2 separate regions of the Homo sapiens genome follow, and region 1 is linked to region 2. Evidence: promoter capture Hi-C in human tissues and cell types (Jung and others, 2019). All regions are on one chromosome and are shown on one strand. The core of a region is centred on a gene start or on the middle of the fragment in contact, and the rest is flanking DNA. Distances in the headings are between cores, read along the strand shown. Region 1 has its middle 2.2 kb from the start of MIR1324. Region 2 holds the start of FRG2C (FSHD region gene 2 family member C).

Evidence for each region. The method cuts DNA at HindIII sites, captures the fragments that hold promoters and counts their contacts. A contact is called where the count stands out against the background at its distance.
Region 1: a fragment that was not itself captured here is called in contact with the fragment with the promoter of FRG2C in region 2 in 2 of the 25 tissues and cell types used here (spleen and stomach).

Annotation. Positions count from the first base shown.
Region 1 is chr3:75,626,610-75,630,509 of GRCh38, reverse strand. It overlaps the pseudogene CLUHP10. Among named protein-coding and RNA genes, the nearest start is that of MIR1324, 2.2 kb to the left of the region's middle. The HindIII fragment of the contact is 9,895 bases long and covers 1-3,900 here.
Region 2 is chr3:75,661,926-75,666,319 of GRCh38, reverse strand. It overlaps FRG2C (FSHD region gene 2 family member C), which reads right to left and starts at 1,992. Exons shown (of 4, transcript NM_001124759.5): 1 at 1,763-1,992; 2 at 1,424-1,501; 3 at 1,117-1,194; 4 at 1-793. The coding sequence starts at 1,940. The coding sequence ends at 279. The HindIII fragment of the contact is 22,089 bases long and covers 1-4,394 here.

The DNA of each region.
Region 1 (3,900 bases), core at 983-3,482, 36 kb after region 2:
AGACAGAAGCAGGTGGGCCTCTCTTCCAGGGCTGCTCTCTCCCCCACTGACAGCTCCCTAGAGGGCGACTCAGACAGTGGGGACAGATTCTTCAGGCAGAAGCACTGGAGTTTAGGCTGGCCGGTTCATTCCATACCCCCACATGACATGACACAAGGCAGAGGCTGTGGGACAAAGGCATTGCCTTTTCTTCTGGCATGAGGAACGGCTTAGGAAGCAGGGGATGGTGGGGCTGGGGTTGAGTGATGGGCTGTGGGCCACAAGGAGTGGGTGGGCACTGAGCAAGTGTCCTGGTTGTCTGTCCACAGACCCAGAACGAGTGGCATCCCAGGAGCCTGTGAGGGGCTGGCAGAGACTTACTGGTTCCAGTAAAAGCCCCATGTGGATGCAGTAATGCTGCCTGCTGGTCCTTGGCTGTAATTACAAACAGGTACAAGAGGTACCCATGCTTCTTGAAGCTCTCAGGGAGTGGGTTCCAGCTGCTCATGGTAGGCACTTTTAGTCACTGAACGTGCTTCAGGTATGTCCAAGTTTGATTAAGCCAGGCATCTTGCTGTGAGGCCCTCCACTTCACTAAGGACACTCTTCCTTTCTCCCCCTGGAAGTTGGACCTTCCAGTTCTGGTTCTGGAGACACGATGGCCCCCCCTGGACCTATATTATCCTGGCTCCTATATTTACTGTCCCAGTTCTAGTATCAGACATTTCTTCAAAGAGCCTGATTCCTTTCAGAATGGTAGGAAAACTTGCATCTGGCTGCTGAATGAGCACATTGTATCTTGTCCCTCATTGGCAATGCTAGGAAGTATATGTGTGTGTCTAACCTACCTATACACACCTAATTATAAAGTTTTCTATGTAGAACTGTGTGTATCTATATTAAACTAAACATAAGTTTACATTGATGTCTCCACCTCTGATCTACTATCACATGAATCATTCTAGCCTTCTCGCCTTGCTAATTTGTAACCTCCCACTTCAACAGTGAGAAACCTGGTTCCCACCATCTGTGACTTATGTAAGTCATTGTTTTATTCCAGATACAGACACCGTGGTTTTACAATTGTTCACAATTGCTTCTGTTGGAAAGAACTTTATAAAATGGAATCCAATGATGAAGTATAGTTCATTTGCCATCAGCCTACAGATTCTATTCATTTTCAAAGTTACTTAGGTCAACACCATTTTCCCTACACCTTCAGTGAGTTTTTACCTACATTTGTGTCTTAGTCCATTTTGTGCTTCTGTAACAGAATACCTGAGGCTGCATAATTTATAAGTAAAAAAGGTTCATTTGGCTCACAATACTGGTGGCTGGGATGTCTGAGATTGGGCAGTTGCATCTGGTGGGGCCTCAGTCTTTTTCACCTCATGGTGGAAAGTGGAAGGGGAGCAAGGGGTGCACCAGAGATCACATAGCAAAAGTGAAAGCAAGAGGGAAGCCAAGGAAGCCAGACTCTTTTTAATTACCTAGTCCTGCAGGAATTATCTATTCCTGTGAGAACAGAACTCACTCACCCCCATGGAGGACATTAATCTATTCATGAAGGATCCGTCCCCACGACCCAAACACTGTCCACTAGGCCCCACCACCCCACACTGACACAGTGGGGGTTAAATTTCAACATGAGCTTTTGCGGGGACAAACCACATCCAAACCATAGTAATTTGTAGCATAAATTCTTTTTCACATGATGTATTCTGTCCTGGGATACTCCACATCCTGAGTAATTTTATTTAATTTGAATAGAGTTTGCTTTAACCATTTGCCTGTAAAATTCTGCATATTTTGAAAAATGCATTGTGGCAGATATCCCACTATTAAAGTATCATATGGAATGCTTCAAACCCCCACCCCATGGAGCCAATGGCTTCCCATCTGTGTAGTTTGCCTTCTCCAGTGTCTCATTAAATGAGGTCACACTGTGTGTATCCTCCTCAGACTGTCTTCTTCCACTTAGCAATGTGCATGTAAGATTCACTCATGTCTTTGTGTGAGTTGATAGCTTGTTCCTTTGTATGGCTAAATAGTATTCCATTACATGAATGTACCACAATTTGGTTATGCATTTTGGGGAGCAGAACCTTCCTTTTCTAACTTTGTTCCAGGGTTGGAGACCTTAAAATTAACTGACAATAGATGCATTAGTAGGAGAGACAATACTTGGCTTCTTGTTCCCCAAGTATCATTGTGGGACAAAATTCATCAGATGGCAGGATCCAGTTCGCAAAGAGGTAAAAATAGTCAAGAAACAAGAAACAAGACTAGAATCTGATAACCCACAATGGCTATAGTTTTCCTTTAAAAAAATTTTTTTTGAGACAGGGTCTGGCTCTTTCACCCAGACTGGAGTGCAAAGGTGCAATCTCAGCTCACTGCAACCTCTACCTCCTGGGTGCAAATGATCCTCCCTCCTCAGCCTCCTGATTACCTGGGACTACAGGCACACGCCATCATGCCCATCTAATTTTTGTATTTTTGGTAGAGACAAGATTTCACCATGTTGCCCAGGCTGATGTTGAACTCCTGGCCTCCCAAAGTGCTGTAATTATAGGCATGTGCCACCATGCCCGGCCATGTTATACTTTTCCATTGAAACATTAAATTTCTCTCTGTAGTAACCATCATTTTTGATCACAATCAAAGTAAGACTATTCTTGTTTTAAAAATAAGTCTAGTTTTGTTAGATTTTGCTTGATTATTTACGTAAGTGCAGCAAGAACAGGAGATGACCACGTAGGTGCTTTCAGGTTTCTTTGCTGGAAGTTTTCATACAGAATCTCAGATTTGACTTTTAAAGCCCTTATTCAGGCTAAAAGCCAAGCCAAGAACATACTATCAAATTTCAGCTGTAGTCCTTATAGTTTTGTGTGAATTCCTCTCTTCTTGAGGCCCCAAAATATCCCTAAATTCCTGGGCCTACCATGAAATGACCTTCCTTACTAACCTATAAGGCTGTGAACCCTGTAATCTAGGTATCAGGCTGGCTTTTCTCAGAGTGCTGTTGGGAATGAAGTTTTTGATGTTCCAAAAAAAAAAAAAAGAATTAACATGGGAACAAATGATCTCTTAGCAAGGTGAACTTTACTTTTCTGCAGAAAGGGTGCTACTCAATAGCTGTCCAGCCACAAGAACACATCAAACAAAGGAGACAGAGTTACTTATAACCTGATGTATCTACCCTACTGCTGTGTCCAGTTTCCATTGGCTGGAATAGGACCTCACAATTTACACTTTACCCGATTGGCTGTTAGTTTAAAACTTTCTTAATTAGGTAAGGGGAATAGAAGAAAGAAAGAAAAGGAAGTTGCCCAAGGATAGTTAAGGAAGCATCTCCAAATAAGGAATTGCATGTACTATGGGCTGGGGCTTGTCTAGTTCTGTCCAGGCATGCTGGAGCAAGCTAGGACAAGTGATTTGGAATACATACACACACACACACACACACACACACATAAAAATAGTGGATAGTTGTGACTTTATAATCTTTGAGGAAGAACTTTCCTCAAAGTTTTCCACAGTGCTTTGTAAGCATTGTCTCCATAAAAGTCAACCTTACTTCCTTAAAATTGCTTGTCATAACTGATCTTAGGTACACTTCCTAAATATGATATTCCAGTAAAAATCTTGATAATATAACCAAAATTTCCAATTATGTCCTGTTATAAGGTGAATAGATTCTTATTGGACTTTTGCTAACAACTATATCATCATGGAAATGAGAGTATTCAGTAAGGATTTCAAAATTCTGGAAAAATCAGGCAGGGAAAAAAAGATAAATGCTTCATTTCTGTTTACAAAAGTATAATCTACTAAATTGTTGCAAGTTACAGTTAGAGTAAGAGAAAGAGATTTCTTAAATCCAGAAACTAGAATATTAAAGAACCAGCAATGCTCCAA
Region 2 (4,394 bases), core at 743-3,242:
TTTCTGATTATATAGAAATGCACGACTGTCATCAGACATCCAAAAGGTATCAAATGTCTAACATGAAATATAAAATTTGTCTATAGCCTTAGCGGTCTGCAAAATTCAGGGCTCACCATTCTGAGTATACCGCTCAAGTTTCTTTCCTATGACTTCTTCAGGTTCTGTCATTTATTAACACAGTGCATCTAAAATTGTCACTGCTGGTCGTCTGGAAGAATCTGAGAAGAAGCAGGTCCTTGTTCTCATTCCCAGAGCTGCATCTCTGCTGAATAGGGTCAGGGTGCTCCCAGCTTAGCCTCATCTGATCCACTGACAGGCTCAGTTATCTCCTGCCCAGGGAAGGGATGGGCTTCTCTATCCAGGGCTGAATCCCCAGGACCAGGCAGTGTGGCTGGGACAAGCCAGCTCTCAGCAGGGAAGACATAAGCTGCCTGAGTGGCCATGGAATACAAGGTCTGCACCTGGGCACACAGAGGCCCCCGGAGCCGAGTGAGCAGTGTCAGCTGCTCACAGGTCAGTGGAGAATGGATCTGCTGTGCCCACACCTGGGCTAGGTCTTGATAAACAGCCTCCGACATAGCTCGCACAGAGGTCACCAAGCTTTTTCGAAGTGACGGTGTTTGGACTTCTAGGGCCCGAGACCTATGCCGCTTGCTGCGCCCAGTGCAAGCCCTGGAACTTCCCCTATGGTGGGCATCACAGGTCTCCTGGATTTCACTGTTGTGCACAGCAGTGGAGGATCTTGATTTTTTATTCAACGTCAAGTTGCACTCCTCTTCTGGACAGTTCCCTGCAAAGAAAGCATGTGAGAGACTCACCAGAGCAGTCCCCACAGACCCTCATTTCCAGAACCCCCTGTGCACCCAGGTGAACCCCATTTGTCTCTCCCACTCCTTCCTGACCATCTCAGGACTGGAATGAAGTGAGGCTGAACCACTTGTGAGTCCCCAAATATTCTCAGAGTGCTAGGATCTCAAAAATTTACTTGTCAATAAGTAATTCCCTTTCCGCTCAAGCCTCGTATAAAAGTTTCCTGATTATTTGCCTTTTGGGGCAAACCAAAAACAAAAAAACCACCACCACCACCAACAACAACAAACACCAAGATTCTACCTGCTCTGTCTTGGCAGATATCCTTGGAACTGATTTTTCTTTTCCTGCAGTTTTCCTGATATGAGCTGGACTCTGGTTCTGTGAACACAATGAGAGTTTGAGAAAGTGCCTCCAACTGAACACCCTGAAATTCCTAGTCCATCCTGGACACACAGGAGCTGAGGTTACCGCCAAACCCCAGCTCTCTTCTGTTCTCCAGTGTCCAGGATCTGTACTGCCCTGGCTGCCAAGGAGCTCCCAGTTTCCTTGCCAGGGGAGCCTGTGTTGCTGCCCTGTCCCTTCTCACCTTGAAAGAGTCAAATCTTACCTGATCCAGCAGTGCTGTTCCCGGCCTTGAGCTTGGTTTCCTCAGAATTCTCCTTGTTTGGATTGGGATCTGATCCTGCTGCAAGAGAAGGTTTAGATGGCTCACCTCTCCCTAGGCAGAGTCCCATAGTCTATCTCTCATGCATTTTTGAGAATCAGTCTTTCATGTGAAGCTCTTCTGCCAGTGTCATGAGTGAACACATTTCTCAAAGTCCCCTAAGGGCACTAAGCCATTTCCCATCCCCAAATCTCAAAATAAAACCCTGCTAAAGACACATAGCTCAGTATCCCTGATTCCAACCCTCCTTCCAGCCTCCATAGGAGCAGCCCAAGGCCTTACCTTGCCTTTGTGTGTGCTTCTCACTGGAATGGGAGAAGGCGGTCTTGCCTTTTCCTTTGAATGGTTTCTTCTCATCTGAGCCCTTTTCTGTAAAGGAGATCTGTTGGAAAGGGGGCTGGTCAGTGGAGCACTGGATGGAGGAACAGTGGAGATCGGGGTCTTCATTTCCCTTTCCCATGTTGAAGCTCAAGTGAAAGGTGCGCTCTCTCACATGTCCAAAGGCAGAGTGTGGGTTAGTCTGCTAGACCTGCCTTTTATACGTCCCTCGGCTGGGCGTGGCTTACTCTTATTGGCTGAAGAGTTTTCTCATTCCTGCCGCTTCTTAGAGCCTCAATCAGAAGTTTCTTGCTGTAGTTCTACTGGGGACCTAGACACAGTTAAGGGGAGACATTTTCAGGATCTTGTCATAGTGTCAAGAAAACAAAGAACCGGGAGCACAGGGACCGGAAGATCAGGGAATCATTTCTTCCGATTTCTGTCCCAGTTCCTACCTGGAGGTATTTATGATCCTGTTCACCTTTCAAGATGCACAATTAAACATGTCTATATTGACATATGTTATATATTTTGCACAGAAAGAGAATTTATTATACATAGTGTTAACGTTGTATGCATAGATATTATAATTTCTTAAATGCTTGGAAACAACAAATGTCAAATTATGGTTGAGTCTATTAGATCCACACATAGATGATGAAATAAAAGTGCAGAGAAAAAATAAATACCAAATGAAATGGCCCTTCCTACCTTAAAAATGGGGAAGATAATTAGATCAAATGCAATAAAATTGCATTGATTAGGTTGAGCCAGTGCTAACCTAATCAGCCCCTGATTCTAGGTGGAAAAACTTTCCCCCTTTCTCACCCTTCCTCAGTCATCCTGGGAGGGCCATTGTGTTCTGTGGAATTTATTCAGCCTCCCTAGTAAAAATGGACTTGGTCGCAAACAGGTAACCCAGCTGATCACAAGAAAAACAGCCTAGATTCTAAACATTCAGCTCCTGTCTTCACACCGCAGACACCACCTGAATCCCGTCAAAGCCCACATTATTTCTCAACAACCACCATATTCCAGGGCAGCCTCTCAAAATTGCCTCAGTGAGACGGGACAAAGTGTGGTGGAGCTCCAGGTTCAGAATAGCTGCCTCATCCCTTCCTACTGCGGCGGAGTCTGTCTCTGCTGGTCAGAGCCCTCCAACTAGCCTAGGCTACGTCCAAGCAAGTGTCCCCTAAAAGGACCTTCTTCTCTCCCCCTCTGCTGAGGAAAGCATGCAGGAATGAGACTTTCTATGTTAGGGAGTACTCGGCCTCCAGTCCCAAATGACTTGATTGACTGATGAAATGATTCCTTGAGGAGGAGAAAGACACGGGGAAGAGACTGTGTTGGGTGAGTCTGTGTTTTCCCAGCTGTGCTGCCTGTGCAAATAGTGGAACCAAAAAAGAATTAGTGGTAGACAGACACTGCCTAGTGAAATTGTCTGAATGTAAATGGAACTTATCATAATATGATATCATTATATATTATAATATTATAAAATTTATTTGACATCTAAATAAATTTTGATATGATATATAAAATTTGGTCAGGTAATTTTATAAGAAAATTGAGTTACATTTTTTAACAATATTAACATATAAACTCAATAGAAAGCTAGGAAAATTGTCTGCTCTTGTGTAAATGACTGCTTTTTGGATAACTCTGTAAAAGGTGTGAAGGGGGTCTGCTACTTACTTGATAGTAAGTACTTGATAAGACATCGACTTCCACATCTTTGCTGTTTTTAACCAGTGCCCTCTCAAGATATGAGAATATTTTACTCTAAGGAAGTATTTTCATAGATATCATAATAGGAATTTTGTTCATTTTAGTTAATAAATTATTATAACATTTAGTGATTATTAATAATTTATGTCACTGTTAAAATATACTCCTACAGACAACATATTACATATGTGTTTTGATTTGTCCTTTAATCTCAGGTAAATTTTTTAAATTTTTATTTATTAAATTCTATATATTTTAGATAAAAGAGACCTTGTAACTGCCATATGATGTACTTTCTTAGAAAGAGAAATTCTCAGGCAAAACTCAGGTCTGGCCAGGCACGGTGCCTCATGCCTGTAATCCCAGCACTTTGCGAGGCCAAGGCGGGTGGATCGCCTTAGGTCAGGAGTTCAAGGCTAGCCTAGCCAACATAAGGAAACCCCATCTGTACTAAAAATACAAAAAAAAAAAAAAAAAAAAAAATTAACTGAATGTGGTGGCTCACGCCTGTAATCCCAGCTAGTTGGGAGGCTGAAGTGGGCAGATCACCTGAGGTCAGGAGTTCAAGACCAGCCTGGGCAACATGGTCAAATCATGTCTCTACTAAAACATACAAAAATTAGCCAGATGTGGTGGCTGTTGCCTATAATCCTAGCTACTCGGGTGGCTGAGACTGCAGAATCACTCAAACCTGGGAGGTGGAGGTTGCCATGGGCCAAGATGGTGCCACTGCACTCCTGCCTGGACAATGAGTGAAAACTCTGTCGAAAGAAAAGAAAAGAAAAGAAAAGAAAGAAAAACTTGAGAGGCAATGCTTAGCTAAGTGGCTCTCAGCCCATGCTTCCAGTCATAATCACACGGCCAGCTT